Linked DNA regions of Homo sapiens: region 1 is linked to region 2. Evidence: promoter capture Hi-C in 16 types of primary human blood cells and fetal thymus (Javierre and others, 2016). All regions are on one chromosome and are shown on one strand. Each heading gives the region's core, a stretch centred on a gene start or on the middle of the fragment in contact. The rest is flanking DNA. Distances are from core to core; before and after follow the strand shown. Region 1 has its middle 49 kb from the start of PLEKHG3. Region 2 holds the start of PPP1R36 (protein phosphatase 1 regulatory subunit 36).

What was found. Contacts are between HindIII fragments. The CHiCAGO score rates a contact against its expected background, and 5 or more counts as called.
Region 1: a fragment that was not itself captured here is called in contact with the fragment with the promoter of PPP1R36 in region 2 in 1 of 17 cell types (megakaryocytes); the score reaches 6.5 in megakaryocytes.

What each region holds. Positions count from the first base shown.
Region 1 is chr14:64,653,849-64,657,531 of GRCh38, reverse strand. No RefSeq gene overlaps it. Among named protein-coding and RNA genes, the nearest start is that of PLEKHG3, 49 kb to the left of the region's middle. The HindIII fragment of the contact is 2,675 bases long and covers 472-3,146 here.
Region 2 is chr14:64,547,460-64,551,391 of GRCh38, reverse strand. It overlaps PPP1R36 (protein phosphatase 1 regulatory subunit 36), which reads right to left and starts at 1,431. Exons shown (of 12, transcript NM_172365.3): 1 at 1,326-1,431; 2 at 407-471. The coding sequence starts at 1,394. RefSeq lists a silencer at 1,276-1,565. The HindIII fragment of the contact is 10,629 bases long and covers 1-3,932 here.

The DNA of each region.
Region 1 (3,683 bases), core at 560-3,059, 110 kb before region 2:
GCAAGGGGGTGCGGGGGGCGGGAGTTGAGGGGTGCGGGGGCGGGGGGCGCTAGCGGAGGAGCCAAGATGGCGCCACTGTACTCCAGCCTGGGCGACAGAGTGAGACTCTGTCTCAAAAAAAAAAAAAACCACACAAAAACATAGAGCCACAGCCTCTCAGGAGCAAACTGAGTTTCTGATTAATTTCAGGAGCCTGGAGATAGAAAATCTGTTAGGGGAAAAGTTACTCCCTGCATTTGGTATTTGGTTCCCTCTTGCCTTTCTGGCTGTCTCTGCCTCTTTCATAAATCCAAAGCCTCCTGGAGTCTTCCCAAACTCGCCCAACTGCTGACACACAGATGCAAACACGTGCAATTCAGCCCTTCATGATTTCCAGTCAGATTTCGTTATTAAGCAACTATTTCCTTGCTCATTTTCTCACCTTTCTCTTTCACATTACAGAGAGCCAATTTACACACACACACAAAAGCTTTCGACAGAAGCACAAAAAACAGCCTACTTAAATGTTTTATTGTGGTAACATACATAATATTTATCATTTTAACCTTCACAATTCAATGGCATTAAATACATTCACAATGTTGTATAACCATCACCACTATGTATACCAAAACCTTTTTCATTATTTTTAACAAAAATTCTGTACCCATTAAATAATAACTTCTCTTTTGGCCCTTCCTCCAGCCCATGGTAACCTCTATTCTATTTTTTTTTCTACAAGCAGACGCCACTACGTCTGCCTAATTTTTTGTATTTTTGTAGAGACAGGGTTTCGCCATGTTGCCCAGGCTGGTCTCAAATTCCTGGGCTCAAGCCATCTGCCTGCCTCGGTCTCCCAAGGTGCTGGGATTACAGGGATGAGCCACCACGTCCCACTTTCTATCTTCTTTTCTTTTCTTTTCCTTTTTTCTTTTCTTTTCTTTTTTTTTTTGAGACGGGATTTTGTTCTTGTTGCCCATGCTGGAGTGCAATGGCACGATCTCAGCTCACTACAACCTCCACCTCCTGGGTTCAAGCAATTCTCCTGCCTCAGCCTCCCAAGTAGCTGTGATTACAGGCACGTGCCACCATGCACAGCTAATTTTTTGTATTTTTTGTAGAGATAGGGTTTCACCATATTGGCCAGGCTGGTCTGGAACTCCTGACCTCAAGTTATCCACCTGCCTCGGCCTCCCAAAGTGTTGGGATTACAGGTGTAAGCCACAGCACCCGGCCTTCTATCTTATTTTCTGCCTTACGAATTGGCCTATTCTGGGTACCTGATATAAGTGGGAATCATATAATATTTGTTTTTCTTTGTCTGGATTATTTCACTAAGCATAATGTTTTCAATGTCTATCAATATTTTAGCATATATCAATATTGCATTTCTTTTTTATGGCTGAATACTATTTCATTGTATGAATATAGCACATTTTGTTTATTCATCTGTTGAGGGACATTTGGGTGGTTTCTGCCTTTTGGCTATTGTGAATAATGCTGCTATGAACATTGTGTACAAATATCTGTTCAGGTCCCTGCTTTCAGTTCTCTTGGGTATATACCAAGAAGTGGGATTGCCAGGTCATACAATAGTTCTATGATTAGCCTACAAAAACAACTCACTTTGGAGGATTAAAAAAAAGAATAGCTTTATACTCTCACTTTATTTCATATCTTATGAAATCTTTTTGAGGTGCTTAGAAAAATACACACCATAAAAAGAGATAAAGAGTTAAAGGGGCCGGGCGCGGTGGCTCAAGCCCGTAATCCCATCACTTTGGGAGGCCGAGGCGAGCAGATCACGACGTCAGGAGATCAAGACCATCCTGGCTAACACGGTGAAACCCCGTCTCTACTAAAAATACAAAAAATTAGCCGGGCGTGGTGGCGGGCGCCTGTAGTCCCAGCTACTCAGGAAGCTGAGGCAGGAGAATGGTGTGAACCTGGGAGGCGGAGCTTGCAGTGAGCCGAGATCATGCCACTGCACTCCAGCCTGGGCAACAGAGCAAGACTCTATCTCAAAAAAAAGAAAAAAAAAAAGTTAAAGGAATTGGGGCAAAGGGAAAATAAGGGTAAGAGCTTCCCAGTTAGTGCTTGGGCAGGGCAGATCAGCTCCATCAGAAAACAAGCGCTTGGGGCACACTGCTAGCACTTTCAAAAGGCAGCTTCCAATGCAGATGATTCCAATTCTACACCTTGGCCAAGCTGCCTCTCCAAATGGAGCAGGGCACGTGGGCTTCACTGTATACGCAGACCACGTGGAAGCTGACACCATAACCTTACCCACCGCAGGCTTCTCATGCACTCACAAACCTTCAGCTGGGCCGGTCCTTAGAATTATCTAGGGCAACCCTCTTGATTTCCAGATGACGAAAGTAAGGCTCAAAGAGGTTAAGTGTCCTGCGGAGACACACAGAGCATGTAAGTAGCAGAGCTGATTCACACCCATGTGTCCCACCGACAGCCTAGTTTCTCCGGGTTACCACACCGCCTCTCATTGCCGTAAGTCAGCTTCCCTTTACTTATTTGGGAAACGTATGGGCTGTATGAAATCATTATGTTCTCATTCTTTTTAAACTGTTCCAGTAGTTATGCAGTTTCAAGGTTCTGAAGGCTAAAAGTACTATTATGTGGTATTAAACAAGGTAGACATTAACTGTGACACGGGAGGGATGTCACAAATCCCATTGCTGAAGCTGAAGCTGTGTTACTTATTTTAGAAAACTTTCCATTAGTTGACTTCCCAAATAGAAGTGTTGCTTCCTGGTTTCCCTTGGTGATTTTTTAAATTGTGCTTAAACATGAGTGTCCAGTTGAGACTACATGCAATTCCAGCATAACCAGGCTTGGTAATGACCAGAGCTATTAACCTGTGATGGACCTTGTATCAGCCAAATATTTACCTAGCTCATGCTCACAACAGGTTGGTGGGACAGATCCAACGGCTCCTACTTCAGCTGGGTTTCCGTTTGGATCTTAATGTGAACACAGCTGCTTGGTTTTATTTATGTACATAGATTTTTCTGACATATTTCATCCTTTCCTAAACCAACTACCCTCGGAGACATTGCAACTTGCTCTCTTGCCTCCATGAGTCACCTAAAAACACACTGGTGGTTTCCAGGACTTCCTCAATGTCTTTCTAGCTGTGTCTGGTGTAAGCTTATGGGCTTTCCCTGGCACAAGTTTGACAGATCTACTCACTCATCTTTAATTCAGTTCTACAAACACTGCAGATGTGGTAGAGGATGGTCGTGGGCTCTAGAACAAAACAGCCCTGGTCTAAATCTCAGCTCTTACTTCATAACCTCCAGCAAGTTACTCAACCTCTTCATGCCCCATTTTGTAATCTAAAAAATGGAAATGATAATATAACCAACCGCATTAGGTGATTATGAGAATTAAGAGTTACTATGCGTATCAGCCCTGGAAGAGTGTCTGACACATGTTGTGAATGCTCAGTACATTACTGACAAAATTCCTGCCTACTCCAAGTCAGGCATTGCCAGGCTTTGGGGATATAAGGGTGAATAAAACACAGATCCTGCTTTCAAGAAGCTTGTTCAGAGAACACACACACACACAAAATATACAGTCCAGGCACGGTGACTTACGCCTGTAATCCCAACACTTTGAGAGGTCGAGGTGGAAGGATTGGTTGAACCCAGGTGTTTGAGACCAGCCTGGGCAACAAGCAAGAC
Region 2 (3,932 bases), core at 182-2,681:
ACTATATTTCTCTAACTCAAAAAGGCAATTTTATAATTAAAAACATGGACTCTGTAAATCAAACAGACCTACATTTAAATAATCTTAGTCACCTCTGAGCTGTGTGATTGGGCTAAGTCACTTAATTTTCCTCAAGTCGCTGAACCCTTTGAAACCTCAGTTTCTTCATCTGTAAATTGGTTAACATGCAGCTGTTTCAAAGAGTTGGTAAACATTAGCACAGTGTCTGGTCCATGTGAAGCAGCTGGTAAGCGTTCAGAGAAAGGCTGTTCACTGAAATGATTGTTTCCTTCCAGATGGCAAAGGTTCAGTGGGTATTTATTCTCTATACTCTTCTGTTGCTTTTTTTTCCCCCAGGCACATGTAATTTTTATAAAAACTCTAATAAAGTGTTGTTAAATTTTACCTTCTGAATTCAAGAGTTCTGGTTTCATCTTTCCAGTACCACATCCCTAATCGTAATCCCAACTGCTGTAAAACGAAATGATTGCAGCAAAAATAATTAAAAGCTCAATTTACAATCCATATGCCACAATAAACCTTTAACAATAATTCCTACTTACTAACACATCTTTTAAGTAATAAGAAGGAAACAAAAAACAATGGTTCCTACTAGTCCCTCTTTACACTTTCAGTAAGAGTGTAGAATCCTAAAGCGTTAAACTTGAAGCTAGGATTTTATCGCTTTGATTGATTTTAGGTGTGGCTTCAGTAGAACGGCAGGAAGGAGGGAGAGGGAGAAAGGAAGGGAGGAAAGTAGGAAAAGAGGAAAGAAGCAGCGGAGGAAGGGAAGGGCGAAAGATAGGAAGGAAATTGGGACTACATATAGCTCATCATAGCAATCTACCAATTAATTGAAATTCAGACAATAAACTGATACCCAGGACAGCCTCAGCTGTCTGGTTCTGGAGACTTCCGGGCTCCAACACTGAGCCTGCCCTTTACAGGCAGTGGCAAAAAGTTAAGTACACCCTTTTCACCGTGGAAGCTAGCACCCACCAGCCTTTCTATCCAGAGCGGGGCTGCTTCCCCCGCAGTAGGTCTCCCTATTTTGCAACCAACCAATTAGAGGTGGTGAGGTGGGATTTCGTAAATATCTAACTACCTGCGCAGGGAGCCAGAATTCAATTCTGACCATCTGTCAAATACACCAGAGTTTTTTTTTTTTCTAGGCAAATATGGCCAGGTGTCTTTGAGAACCGCCAGCCCGGGGCGAAGGCGACGACCCGCCTCTGGAGGAGGGCGAGGGGCGCGGCGCCGGTTGGGGGCAGCAGGGCCCGCCTTGCGCCCAGCCCGGGTATGGGGGCGACCAAGGCTGCACTTACATCCATCAAGTAAGGGGTCTGCCCACCTAACCGCTTCCTCCTCGCATAAAACTCGGGCACCCGGTACATGGCCTCGCCCTGGAAGCCATACGGCGTCGCCGAGGATACCGCCCGCAGGCGCCTGCACACGGCTGCCCGGGGCGCGGAGCGGGGCGGGGCGTCGCTTCCGTCCTAGGCCGCGCGGGCTGCGGCCGCACCCAGGCTTCTCCAGCGATTTCTAAAGCCCAGCCTGGTGCCCCGTTTCCCAGTCTTAAAAGCCGTGGCGACGTATTGGCCTATCCATTGTAAAGCCGCCCAGGGCATAATTCTTCATGGCATTCCAACCTTGAACTTCATGAAGTTATTCACTTTACTGTTTTAATTGGAGTAACTACATTCAGTCCTATAGGGAAGAAAGATCCATTTCTTCCTAACTTTCATGATTAGCACTATTATTAAGTTCAAATCCAGGATGAACCTAGGTTGATGGGGAGAGCAGGGTTGAGGTGGGGAAGCAGGGTAGCCTCGTGGAAGAGAACATGGGTACGGAAATAAGGTTTTCATAACAGTTGTGCTGCTTAACAAGCTGTGGAATCTAGGACAAGACTATTCTGATCTTTCTTCTGAAAACACCAAATCAGGGGTTATGTGGATTTTTGGAGTGGTGTGTGTAAAGCACCAGTCTTAAGTACTCAAAATTAGTGTTGCTCAAAAACAAAGAAACTTGCTTAGTGTCAATGGGTATTCAATTGATATTTTTACATTTACACTTTTCAAATCATGTGTCTTGTAATTCCTTCTTGCAACGGAGTTGATAATGCTGATTCTGGCTGATTTTTTTCCTCCCAGCTCTAAGTGAGCAATGCTAGATGATGCAACATGATTGGGAATGCCTAGTATATTCTTTTGTATCACCACAGCTTAATTGGTATGAGAGGCTCATAAGTAGTGGATATATACTCCCATTAACTTTTAAGTTATGTCAGTAGTCATCCCACTGCTTCTTCTATTCCCACCCTCCCAGTCTCACTACTTGGTAATACACAATCACTGGCTACAGTGATTAAATAGTAATCATCTAGATTCATGTTCTGCTCACTTGAGTCCATTCTGGCAGCTGTTCAGTTGGTCCAGGTATATGGAAACCCACTTATATACTGGCCGCAGGCAAGGCTTTCTTACTACAAGATGACACGCTTGAAAAGGAGACTATCCCATATGCCAAGAGCTTTTCACCAAGTAGCGAACATAACTTGGGGTGGACAGGACAGGGAAATAATGAGGTAAAGCTCAAGAAAAGATGCAGACAGACCAAGGAATCTGGATGGCATCCAATCACTACATAATCATTACCGGGAAGACCACACTAGTGGTCAGTAAACCTCTTCAGTTCATCCCAATAATGTGTGGAGAAGTGCTGATAGAAAACTTAAGATCTATATATCTTATCACAGAATAAACTTAGGCTGTCTAATGTACAAAACTTAGGTAAAAATAAAAGTTGAGAGCCCAAAACAATAACTACTTAAAAATTAAAGGAGAAGTTATTTCGCATGTGATAGAGGGACATAATATTTAAAGGAAAGTTTCAGTAACTCTGAAGGGACAATCTTATACTTCTCTATCACTTTACCCCAAACAAAAGGAGGAAGAAAAGATTGTTTTTACATCTCTTAATCATTACAGTACTTATTTTAAAAAGTGACCCACCGATTTCCTAAGGTACATTTTTCACCAGTTAGGTTTCTTTTTAAATGACATTAGAAACTCACAACCAAAACTGGAAATATGATTGTCCCTGTAAAGAAGAATAAACACAATTGATGATATTTAGTAGGGATGAAGGTAACTTCTAAATATTTGATAACTCCAAGTGTCCTGTGAGGGAATTTTTTTTTTTCCTAATTAAGAGAAACTTAAGGTCATATAACTATCTAAGAGCATATAATATATAACTAAATTGCTGGTCCCAGATTTTAGGTCCAAGACATTAACTGAATATAATTCATGCTAATTCTATAAAAAAGATAATGGACAGGTTTGTTTTTTTGTTTGTTTGTTTTGAGACGGAGTCTCGCTCTGTCGCCCCGGCTGGAGTGCAGTGGCATGATCTCGGCTCACTGCAAACTCCGCCTCCCGGGTTCACGCCATTCTGCCTCAGTCTCCTGAGTAGCTGGGACTACAGGAGCCCCCACCACGCCCGGCTTATTTTTTAGTAGAGACGGGGTTTCACCGTGTTAGCCAGGATGGTCTCGATCTACTGACCTCATGATCCGCCCGCCTCGGCCTCCCAAAGTGCTGGGATTACAGGCGTGAGCCACCGCGCCCGGCCAATGGACAGGTTTTTATAGTGTTGTAATTCTACCTTAAAAAATTAACTTTCCACAGAAGAAAACAGCAATGCAAAATTTTGAATTAACAACTCCATTTTTGAAAAATTATTTTTTTTTCTGACACTATACATCTGCAGATGGCAGCTCCTGTTTTTTTGTTTGTTCATTTGTTTTGTTTTGAGACAGGGTCTCACTCTGTCGCCCGGGCTGGAATACGGTAGTGCGATCTCCGCTCACTGCAACCTCCGCCTCCCGGGCTCAAGCGATTCTCCCACCTCAGCCTCTTGAGTAGCTG